Regions from separate parts of the Homo sapiens genome. Here all the other regions are linked to region 2. The links are contacts of gene promoters, found by promoter capture Hi-C in blood cells and fetal thymus (Javierre and others, 2016). All regions are on one chromosome and are shown on one strand. The core of a region is centred on a gene start or on the middle of the fragment in contact, and the rest is flanking DNA. Distances in the headings are between cores, read along the strand shown. Region 1 overlaps SPOCD1 (SPOC domain containing 1). Region 2 holds the start of KPNA6 (karyopherin subunit alpha 6). Region 3 overlaps PEF1 (penta-EF-hand domain containing 1). Region 4 overlaps BSDC1 (BSD domain containing 1).

The links. Contacts are between HindIII fragments. The CHiCAGO score rates a contact against its expected background, and 5 or more counts as called.
Region 1: a contact is called between a fragment that was not itself captured here and the fragment with the promoter of KPNA6 in region 2, in 1 of 17 cell types (megakaryocytes). The highest score is 5.1, in megakaryocytes.
Region 3: a contact is called between a fragment that was not itself captured here and the fragment with the promoter of KPNA6 in region 2, in 3 of 17 cell types (naive CD4 T cells, total CD8 T cells and non-activated CD4 T cells). The highest score is 6.7, in naive CD4 T cells.
Region 4: a contact is called between a fragment that was not itself captured here and the fragment with the promoter of KPNA6 in region 2, in 2 of 17 cell types (naive CD4 T cells and non-activated CD4 T cells). The highest score is 6.7, in naive CD4 T cells.

What each region holds. Positions count from the first base shown.
Region 1 is chr1:31,802,538-31,805,237 of GRCh38, reverse strand. All of the region lies in intron 2 of SPOCD1 (SPOC domain containing 1), which reads left to right. Among named protein-coding and RNA genes, the nearest start is that of SPOCD1, 12 kb to the left of the region's middle. The HindIII fragment of the contact is 4,282 bases long and covers 1-2,700 here.
Region 2 is chr1:32,106,690-32,109,389 of GRCh38, reverse strand. It overlaps KPNA6 (karyopherin subunit alpha 6), which reads right to left and starts at 1,334. Exons shown (of 14, transcript NM_012316.5): 1 at 1,256-1,334. The coding sequence starts at 1,259. RefSeq lists enhancers at 604-1,121, 1,079-1,508, 1,122-1,640. The HindIII fragment of the contact is 1,772 bases long and covers 1-1,617 here.
Region 3 is chr1:31,638,622-31,641,321 of GRCh38, reverse strand. All of the region lies in intron 1 of PEF1 (penta-EF-hand domain containing 1), which reads left to right. Among named protein-coding and RNA genes, the nearest start is that of PEF1-AS1, 4.2 kb to the left of the region's middle. The HindIII fragment of the contact is 1,755 bases long and covers 502-2,256 here.
Region 4 is chr1:32,387,712-32,390,411 of GRCh38, reverse strand. All of the region lies in intron 2 of BSDC1 (BSD domain containing 1), which reads left to right. Among named protein-coding and RNA genes, the nearest start is that of BSDC1, 5.4 kb to the left of the region's middle. The HindIII fragment of the contact is 8,104 bases long and covers 1-2,700 here.

The sequences.
Region 1 (2,700 bases), core at 174-2,673, 300 kb after region 2:
CCGGGGCCAGTGGATCACAGGGTCAGGAGATGGAGACCATCCTGGCTAACACGGTGAAACCCTGTCTCTACTAAAAATACAAGAAAAAAATAGCCGGGTGTGGTGGCGGGCGCCTGTAGTCCCAGCTACTCAGAAAGCCTAGGCAGGAGAATCGCTTGAACCCGGGAAGTGGAGGTTGCAGTGAGCCAAGATCATGCCACTGCATTCCAGCCTCGGTGACAGAGCGAGACTCCATCTCAAAAAAAAAAAAAAGAAAGAAAGAAAGAAAAAAGAAATTTGAGCACAAATAACTAACTTATCAAAGTATAAAGGTAGTTACAATCTTTGTCTTACTCCAAAATGATATAGGGATCTTGGAATGCTCTAATTCCAAGCGCGTACCTTTCCAATTTGTGTGTTGTTGTTATCCAGTAAATTAGTCCTATCTTTTTTTTTAAAAAATCCCCAAATTACACACTGTTATTATAGTTTCATACAATCAATGTTTATTTAGATTTAACAACATCTTCATCATTTTCTTTGCTCAAAATTCTTCCTTTCATCTTATCTATCTGGGATTGTTTTTCCTTCCTTCTGCCTCAGGTTTATCTTTTAGCATTTTGTTTATTGAGCAAAGCAAAATTATCAAGAAAAATAACAGCTCTCTTGATTTTTCTCTACAGTATCTTTATTTCTTCCTTATTCTTGAAAAGTATTTTGTCTGGGTCCACAATTGATAGTTATTTTCTTTAAGCACATTGAAAATATTATTTTTTTATGTTTTGCTTTTCATTATTACTATTGAGAAAGTAGCTGTTAGTCTAATTGCCATTCCTTTATAGATGAAAGGTATTTTGGTGAATGGGATCATAGAATAGTAGTTGAAGTTATGGCCTCTGGAATCAGACTGTCTGGATTTAAATCCCAGCTCTTTGGTTTTCTAGCTGTGTGACATTGGGCAAGCTGATTAACCTCCCTGTGCCTCTATGTGCCTTAGTTTCCTCTTTTGTAAAATGGGGGAGATAACAGTACCAGTACCTCATAAGATTATGGTGAGGATTAAATTAACTAATATGTAAAGCACTTGCCACAGATGTAGCACATTTTAAGTGCTAGTCAAGTGTTAGCTATTATTTTTTCTCTTTATGCGTGTAAGGATCTCCTTATCATGAGTGTTGATGTGTCTAGGTATGAATTTCCTTTTATTTATTCTGTTTGAGATTCACTGAGCTTTTTGAATCTGTAAATTTTTGTCTTTTATCAATTTTGAAAAATTCTTAGCCCTATTTCTTTAAACACTGCTTCTACCCATTCTCTTTCCTCTCTCCTTCTGGAACTTTAGATTAATCATTTTCACCCTTCCTTCCTTCCTTTCTTCCTTCCTTCCTTCTTTCTTCCTACCTTTCTTTCTTCTTTCTTTCCCTCCTCCTCCTCCTTCTTCTCCTTTCCTTTCCTTTCCCTTTCCTTTCCTTTCTTCTCCTTTCTTTTCTTCTCCTCTCCTTTCCTTTCCTTTATTTTGAGACAGTGTCTTGCTGTGTCACCCAGGCTAGAGTACAGTGGTGTGATCATAGCTCACTGCAGCCTTGACTTCTCCGGCTCAAACAATTCTGCCGCCTCAGCCTCCTGAGTAGTTGGGACTACAGGTACACACCACCATGCCTGGCTATTTTTTTTTTTTTTCTTGTTTTTGTAGAGACAGGGTCTCGCTATGTTTCCCAGGCTGCTCTCAAACTTCTGGCCTCAAGCGATCCTCCTGTCTCGGCCTCCCAAAGTGCTGAGATTACAGGCGTGATGTGTCTCTTAGTGCTTCACAGTGTTCACAAAGTGCAACACATTTAATTTATTTAAATGTGTTGTCCAGTTAGCTAATTTGTTTCAGCTGCATCTAATATGCTATTAAATCTATATATTGAGTTTTTAAATTTTAATTAAGATCGTTATATTTTTCATTCCCAGAAGTCGTGTTTGGTTCCCGATCAAATCTGCCCGGTTGTTTTTTGTAGTTTTTTTGTCCTTCACTCATGTGTTCGTCTCCTTCTTTTATTTCTTTAAACATATTATACATACATAGTTTGTATTCTGGTCTGATAGTCCAGTGTTGAAAGGCTTCGCTCATCTCATTCTCCTGCCTGTTGTTTTGGAGCCTCATAACATGGACGTTAGGACCCCTGAGACGGGCCAGCCAAAAGGCTTTGAACTGTGAAGGGCTGGTCTTGATATTCTTCCCACACCCCTGTTTTCTTTGTTTTTTTTTTTTCTGCCTCTTTCTCAGTTTACTTTTTTGAAAGGCTGATTCATTTCCATGGTTCAAAAAAACAAAAAAAGTGAAACTCATCTTTCCCGGCACCCAGTTGCTTCCCTACTGGCAGCCTGGGTTAGATAGGTTCTTGCAGATACTTCCTGTGATATTTTATGTGTATTCCAGCAAATACAAATTTTAAAATTCGTTCTGTCTGTAACGCGAATGGTAGCACACCACACGTATTGTTCTGAACTTGTTTTTAATAAAAAAACATGTTTCCGGTTGTAAAAGAAATACACGCTCGTTTTGAATAACATGAATACCCAAGTTCCTACAAGTAGAAAGTGAAAGTCTCCCTGGAATTTCATTCCCCAGAGATAACCTCTATTATGTATCTGTAAATATATATTTACATAAATGGGCTTATGCAACAGATATTGTTCTGTAACCTATTTTTTCTTTTTCTCCCAATAATACTT
Region 2 (2,700 bases), core at 85-2,584:
GACCAGCCTGGCCAACATGACGAAACCCTGTCTCTACCAAAAACACACAAAAATCAGCCGGGCGTGGTGGTGGGTGCCTGTAATCCCAGCTACTCGGGAGGCTGAGGCAGGAGAATCGCTTGAACCCGGGAGGCAGGAGGTTGCAGTGAGCCGAGATCGCGTCACTGCACTCCAGCCTGGGCGACAGAGCAAGACTCTATCAACAACAACAACAAACAGCAGTTACAAACTAGGCTTGGGAGTGTTCACCCTGGCTTAGCCACTGCATGACCTTGGGTAAGTTACTTTACCTCTCTAAAGCTCAGCTTCCACATCTGTAAAATGGCAATGGTAGCATCTATTTCCTTAGGTTGTACAAATTAAGTAAAACAAGACATGTAAAGCAATCAGAACAATGCCCGTACGTAGAAAGAGCTTAGCAAATTTCACAATTTTTACTGCTTTAGAGGAATTACCACTGTTGGTTCTGTCTCTAAATCCAAAGACTTCGCCATGGTATTCTCTCTGAACAGAGGCCTTGCCAGCCGGAGTCCCCTCAGAAAGATCAACAGGTCGCTCCTTTTCTCCTTACCAGGGCCAGCCCAGAAACCTAAAGTCCTCAACCTAAAGATGGCCAAGAGGACTTGGCCTTTGGTGTTCTACCATCACAAGCGATGCCACTCTGAGCCCAACCGAACCACACTATTTCCGCCTTGATTCCGTTCTCCCGGCCTTCAGCGGCGCAAGCTGCCCTCGGCCTGGCTGCCCATGCTTACCGGCCTAGTGCTGGCTCGCCTGACGTCCCCTCACTAGAGGACTCCACCTCGCTACGTAGGTAGGACTTCCCTGAGTTCAGGGGAGCCACTGAATCTAGTCAAGACACGCGTTGGCCAAACACAACCCAGGAGAAAGCTACCTTAGCGCCGCCCAGGCCTGCCGCCGGGAGCCCGTCCCCCAGCCCCAGTCTGGGCGCAGGACAGAGAGTAGGCCCCTTTCTACCTCCCAGGAACACGTGGGCTCCTGCCCGAGGCCACCATGTGGGGGGCTCCAGGCGTGCCAAGGTGTCCCCGAAACCAGCACCAAAGGACTGCTTCCAGCACGGGCCCTAGCTCGGCCCAAAACTGGCAAGAGGGGCACTCCCGGCCTGACTTTTCCCCTCAGACCTAGCTAGAGGGGATGCAGACATCTTCCGCAGACCGGAGACAGGCTCTCGCCAAATCCCAGGCCCCGACACTCCCTGAGCCCAAGAACCCTACTGCGTGGTTTCCTCACTCACCCATCGCGGGTCCGCTCGCTCACTCTTGGCGGCGGAGGCAACGGCGGCAGCTTCAGCGGCAGCTTTCAGTAGACAATATGGCGGATCTGTAGGACGGCAGCCCGAAAGGGACAAACCAGTTAACTCCAGGACGAAACGCTTTATTGGCCCAATCGCCTATCATTACACCGAAAGTGCGCACTTAAAGAGACCGCAGCTACTAAAGGTGGGGAGTGGAAATGAAATAGGAAAGGAGTGGTTGGGAGGAGACTGGAAGGGATACCTAAGAAAGTTAAGTGTGTCTAGGAGTTCCCAGCTGTTTCTGCTACTATTTCTTTTTTATAGTGAGATTTCTTTACCCGGAACTTTTTCTCCCAGAAGCTTATCCCTCCTTTTTTTTTTTTTTTTTTTTTTTTTTTTTTTGAGACGCAGTCTCGCTCTTGTCCCCCCAGGCTGGAGTGCGATGGCGCGATCTCGGCTCACTGCACACTCTGCCTCCCGAGTTCAAGCGATTCTCCTGCCTCGGCCCCCCGAGTAGCTGGGATTACAGGCGCCTGCCACCACGCCTGGCTAATTTTTGTATTTTTACTAGAGACGGTGTTTCAACCATGTTGGCTAGGCTGGTCTTGAACTCCTTACCTCAGGTGATCCGCCCGCCCCCAAAGTGCTGGGATTACAGGCTTGAGCCACCGCTCCGGGCCAGTTTATCCCTTCTTCTAATAGTTGAAACCAATCGGCTGGGCGCTGTGGCTCACGCCTGTAATCCCAGCACTTTGGGTAGGCCGAGGCGGGCGGATCACCTGAGATCAGGAGTTCGAGACCAGCCTGCCCATGGTCTCTACTAAAAATACAAAAATTAGCTGGGTGTGGTGGCGCATGCCTGTAATCTACTTGGGAGGCTGAGGCAGGAGAATTGCTTTAACCCGGGAGGCAGAGGTTGCAGTGAGCCGAGATTGTGCCACTGCATTCCAGCCTGGGAGACAAGAGCAAAACTCCGTCTCTAAAAACAAAAACAGCAATCATAGACCTTGGGCTGAATATGAACAACGAATCATCTAGAGAGGGGAAGTGCCTTGCTCAATGAGGCTATGGAGAGAAGGAAACAAAGAAGTAAGACTAAACTCAGGTTTTCTGATTAGGCCTACGTAGGTAGCCCTAGTTGAGGTTGCAATCTTATTGGGAGATGAGAAATAGAAAAATAGGGCTGGGTGTGGTGGTTCACGCTTGTCTATAATCCTAACACTTTGGGAAGCTGAGGCCAGAGAATCACTTGAGGCCAGGAGCTCAAGACCAGACTGGGCAACACAGTGAGACCCCATCTCCACAAAAAATAAATTAAAAGAAAAAAATTAGCCAGGCATGGTAATGAGCACTTGTACTTGGGCGGCTGAGGCGAGAGGATCACTTGAGTCCGGGAGGTCAAGGCTGCAGTGCCATGACTGTGTCACTATACTCCAGGTTGGGTG
Region 3 (2,700 bases), core at 130-2,629, 470 kb after region 2:
TTGAGGTAATCTAGGCTAAAGAGAACTGTGACCTGGTAGAGGAGATTTGAGAAGCACTTGGGAGGTAGATTTGAGAAAACTTGGCCTTAGGTTTGGATGATTAAGCAGAACGGAGCTCCATTCACTGAGATGAGAACACAGGGAGGCATGGGTTTGGAGGGAAGGTCCAGTAGGCTGCTGGATATGTGGGTCTGTAGCTCAGGAGTGATGAAGCTGGAAAGATTTGAAAGTGTGAGCACAGAGGTAATTGAAGTCTGGGGATGGTTCTTGGCTCATTGTTTATTGGTTGCGTGCTTCTCTCCTATTTCAAGTGGCTCTGCTGGTGAATGCTTGAACTGTTCCTCTTGTCTTCCTGTGATTGTTTAACCCCTTAGTTTGGGCTTCCCACCTCCTCCTGTGCACTTGAAGGGTAGCTCTGGGGTACAAACTTGTCTTTGCAATGCTCCCTCCTCCATTCGTCATCAGGGCTCAGCTTGGAACAGCCGTTGATACCTTTAAGCTTCACAGGGGTCTTGAGGTTAGAAGACTTGAGTCCTCAGAACTGGAAAGAAAAAAAAAATACCGGACTTTCTGAGGTGGTTATTTGGGAGGAGGTAAGCTCCCTACTGCTTGCGCAAGTGCAGGTAGAGATTCCAGGTGGTTCTGCAGAGATTCCATTATTAACTGAGAGGTTGAACTGAAGAGTCTTTGGGGTGTCTTCCAAAATGTGGCTTGGCTCTCAAAGTGACTCTAGGTGCTGGGACGAAAAAGAATGAGATTTTTCTAAGAGTCCCTGATTTCTGGGCTTGAAGGCTCTGAGAGATCACCCAATCCAGCCTTCCCCTCTACCTCTGTCCACAGTAGAAATTCATTATATTTGACAAAGACATTTAGCACAGTCCCTCACACAGACACATGCTAGGCACTCACTCATTTATTGAGTGAACAAACAGAAGGGGGTAGTGTAGAGTCATGCAGACCCTGACTTGAATCCCAACTTGCCCATTCTAGCTGCATGATCTCAGGCATGTTATTAAACTCTCTGCCCCTTAATTTTCTCATCTGCAAAATGGAGATGACACTGTTTACCTCACAGGACTGAGGATTAGTGAGAGCTGGTTGAACTGGAAGCACCTAGCAGAGCCTCAGTAAATGTTTGTTGCCCCCAGTCCCCCCAGGGCATCAGATGTAGCTTATTTGCAATCAGCCAGAGCCCTAGAGATAGTTTTTCTGTGTTGCTTCAGAAGCTGCAGTTACTGAACTCTTCCTGTCCTTCCCCTCCACCTGCCTTCACAATCCTGTTTATCAGTATGAAATAACTCTTGGAAAAACTCTAAAAAGGGCTGGGAGCATGGAGTAGTGTAAAAGAACGTGGAGTCAGGGATGCTGTTTTTCATTTCTGGTTCAGACCTTTGCTAACAACTCAGTGACACTGGGTGACCCTCTGTGAGGTGGGGACCACCTCATCTTCTTCCCCAAACTTCCTGTGCAGCCTGCATTCTGTCTCAGTTGGCTCCACCTCCTTCATCTTGTGCAAAAGCTAGAAACCCGAGTCATTCTGAACACTTTCCTCACTCCTCCTCCATCTCTTTCCTAATCTAATTAGTCACCAAGTCATGTCTGGTCTATCTCTGAAATAGCTTCAGAATCCATTCCGTTCTCTTCATCCCCAAGTGTGCTGTCTGGTTCATGCCCTGCCTGCCCAGCACCTGGGCTACTGCCTCCCTCACTGGCTCATCCTCCACACCGCCGCTGGTTACTTCTCTAAACAAGGTTCTCATCACGTTCCTCTCCTATTGGAAACCCTTCTATAGTGCTCTGTTTTCTCCGGCATAAAGCCCCAACAAAACTCTTTAGAGTGGTGTTCATTTGTCCAAATATTTGTGGAGGCTTGCAGGTGCCAGGCACTGTGCTGGGCCCTGGGGTGCCATGATGAGTGAGGCGCAGTGTCTGCCCCTGGGGAGCTTACTGTTGGGTGGGGGAGATGCTAGACAGAAACTACTCTTAGACACTGATACCTCACGGCTAACTGAAATGCAGGGGGAGAGGTGCTTGGTCAACGAGTGTATAGAGGGCCTGCCTTTCTGGGTTCACACTGCATTCTTGGCTCTGCGGTTTAACTCATTCCCTGAATGCACTATGCTCACTCTTAAGTCTGTGCGTTTGTCTTTCTTCTCTCTTCTGTCTGGAGTGTCCTTCCCTGCCTGCCTTTTGGAAAATGTCTATGCATCCTTCAAGGACCATTTCCAATATCACTGCCACTTCCTCCAGGAAGCTTTCCTTGACCCACTTCATACATTGTTCATTTATTCATTCTGCAAACAGCACAAATTCCTCCATCTAAGCTTCCTTGATAGCACATAAGTAGATTTTTCTGATGGCACTGATCAGATTGTATCACAATTATCTGTGGGCCCCTTAAGGGCAGGACTTCATTTACTTGTGTCCTCAGATCTACTACAGAGCCTAGTACAATATTGTCACTCTGAAAATGCGTGCTGAATGAAGTCCTTTAACAGCTCCGTGGCTTAGTTTCTTCATCTGTAAAAGAGGGCAACTAACATCTTCCTTTTTTCTGTTAGGAGGCCATTGGCAAGATTCTGCCTGTAGTGTTTGTGTTTGTGAAAGTACTTTGTAAACTACAGAGGAGGTCTTCAAATGCAGGACAGAAAGGAAAGGGTTTAATTGCTGCCAGACTACAATAGCCAGAAGGGCAGGAGA
Region 4 (2,700 bases), core at 98-2,597, 280 kb before region 2:
ATACCTGTTCAGTCACCAAATCCACCTTCTTCCATCTCCTGTATCTTGAACCAGTCTCATCCTCTCCATCTTTACTAGCATTGTCCTTACTCACATTTTTCTATTTTCTTTCCTGGATTATTGCAGCAGCCTCCTGACTGGTCTTCCTTCTTCCTCTTCTAATCTTCTCGCCTCTGGACCTTTCCTCCATTCCAGTCACTGGAGTAATTTAGTGAAAAGGCAAATCTCATGTCCCACCCACTTCAAACCTTTGGTGGCTCCCCATCATCCATAGGGCTGACCAGGCTCTCCCTGGTTGCCCTTGGCAACCTCTCCAGCTTTATCCCTCACCACTCTTGCTTCACATTTTATGTCCATCAGGACTGTAATGCTTGTAGACGTCACTAAACCCATGTCAACACTTCTTAGCTGACTCCTGTTCTTTTTTTTTTTTTTTTTTGAGACAGGGTCTCACTCTGTTACCCAGACTGGAGTGCAGTGGCATGATCACAGCCCACTGCAGCCTCAACCACCCAGGCTCAGGTGATTCTCCCACCTCAGCCTCCTGGGTAGCTGGGACTATAGGCGTGTACCACCACTTCTGGCTAATTTTTTGTATTTGTGTGTGTGTGTGTGTGTGTGTGTGTGGAGACGGTTTTGCCATAGTGTCCAAACTGGTCTCAAATTCCTGGGCTCAAGCAATCCTCCTGCCTCGGCTTCCCAAAGTGCTGGGATTACAGGCATCAGCCACTGCACCTGGCCCACATCAATACTTCTTAACCAACTCCTGTTCATTCTTTAAGGGCCCATTCCAGGCTTCTGGTCACCACATCTTCCCAACCTCCCCATAGTACAGCAGCTACTGCTCTGCCCTTGCACATCAGCACTATCATGGGACCATTTTCCCCAGTAGACTGTGACCTGCTTGAGGGCAACGTATGTTCATGTTTGTCTGCTCAGAGCTCACAGTCTAGCGGGAAGACAACTGTTTAGTCACACAAGTGGTTACATAATTGAAATTTCAATGGTCCATGTAAATTTAACAAGCAAACATTTTTTGAGTACCTACTGTATGCTCTGTGTCAGATACTGGGGAACCATCAGGGAACAAAACACATAGGACCTGTGTTCACACAACTCACAGTTTATCCAGGAAGACAGACATTGAACAGGTCATCTGAAGTCTAAACTATGTTCAGTGTTAGAAAAGAGATAAATTGGGAGGCCAAGGTGGGCGAATCATGAGGTCAGGAGATCGAGACCATCCTGGCTAACACAGTGAAATCCCGTCTCTACTAAAAATACAAAAAATTAGCTGGGCTTGGTGGCGGGCGCCTGTAGTCCCAGCTACTCGGGAGGCTGAGGCAGGAGAATGGCATGAACCCGGGAGGCAGAGGTTGCAGTGAGCAGAGATCGCGCCACTGCACTCCAGCCTGGGTAACAGAGCGAAACTCCATCTCAAAAAAAAAAAAAAAGAAAAAAAAGAAGAAGAGATAAAGCAGGGAGAGCCAGCTGAGCCTGAAGAGGCAGCAGGAAGCCCCTCTAGGGAAATGAAGCATAGACGTTGAGGATGAACAGGAGTTTTCCAGATAAGAGGGTTCCTTCATCGTGTTTACAGACTTGGTTTTTTTGAAGAGTTAGAACTCTGTATCAGGGAGAGGAAACAATGTGTTCAGATACTCTGAGGCAGGACAGATGCTAGGGCATTTTAGAAACTTGAGGAAGGCCAGCTGGAGCTCAGTGAACGGCACAGTGGTAGGGGATACCAGTCTGCCAGAGGCCAAGTTATATAGGCTTTGTAAGTAAAGGTGGATTTTCAATTTGCTCTTAGGATAGTGTGTAAACTTAAAGAGTGTAAAGCAGCACGGTCTGCCCTGACAGACAAAGCACCCACTGGGTGTCATAAGGAGAATGAAGTAAAGGTGGCTGAGACAACCTGGGAGGAATCCAGGTGAAAGAATAAGTTGGCCTGGACTAAGATGGTGGCAGTGTGGATAGAAAGAGTGAATCGGTAAATGACCCAGGGCACAATTTCATGGTGCTGTGAAATATTTTTTAAAATTTTAATAAAAGTAAATAAGTAAATGACCTCCTCCACCCCCAATTAAGGAGTCCTGAGTTGATATGGAGGCATGATTACCACCCCTAGAGAAGCCTGTAGCTGATAGACTGTGCCATTCAGAAACTTCCCAAGCTAATGAAAAGTGGGCAGGCCCTTCCCAGAAGAACAAACCACAGGAGCGCTCAAAAACATGCTTTAAAAAATGCAGGTGATTATCCCCGTGTAAGATGAAAGGGCTTGCAGGGGGAGTGGCCACTGAGATACTCCAGGAAGCATCCTAGAGTTGGTGAGTCTGAAGCAAGACAGGGCAAGACCTAGAAGTGAGCTGAGGGTCTGCTTTCTCAAGTGAGGTCTGGGTGCAGGCTGAGAAACAGATTGGTTTAGCAGGAGCAAATATGCATTCTGCCCAAAGGAGCTTTGTATATGAATAGAACCTCGGGATGGTAGAACCAAGAAGGCCTCCAAGAGAATCTGATCTAGTCTTTCTCTTGACCGCTTCCTCCTTTGTTGAATGTAAAAAATCACATGCCTTTTTACTGATATTAAATTGTTAAGAATTACTCATAAAATAGCTTTCCAAGCTATTGCTGTTACTAATACAATTAGTAATTACTAATTCTTAAACCCGAAGGCAAATAACTTCACATACTGCCTCATAT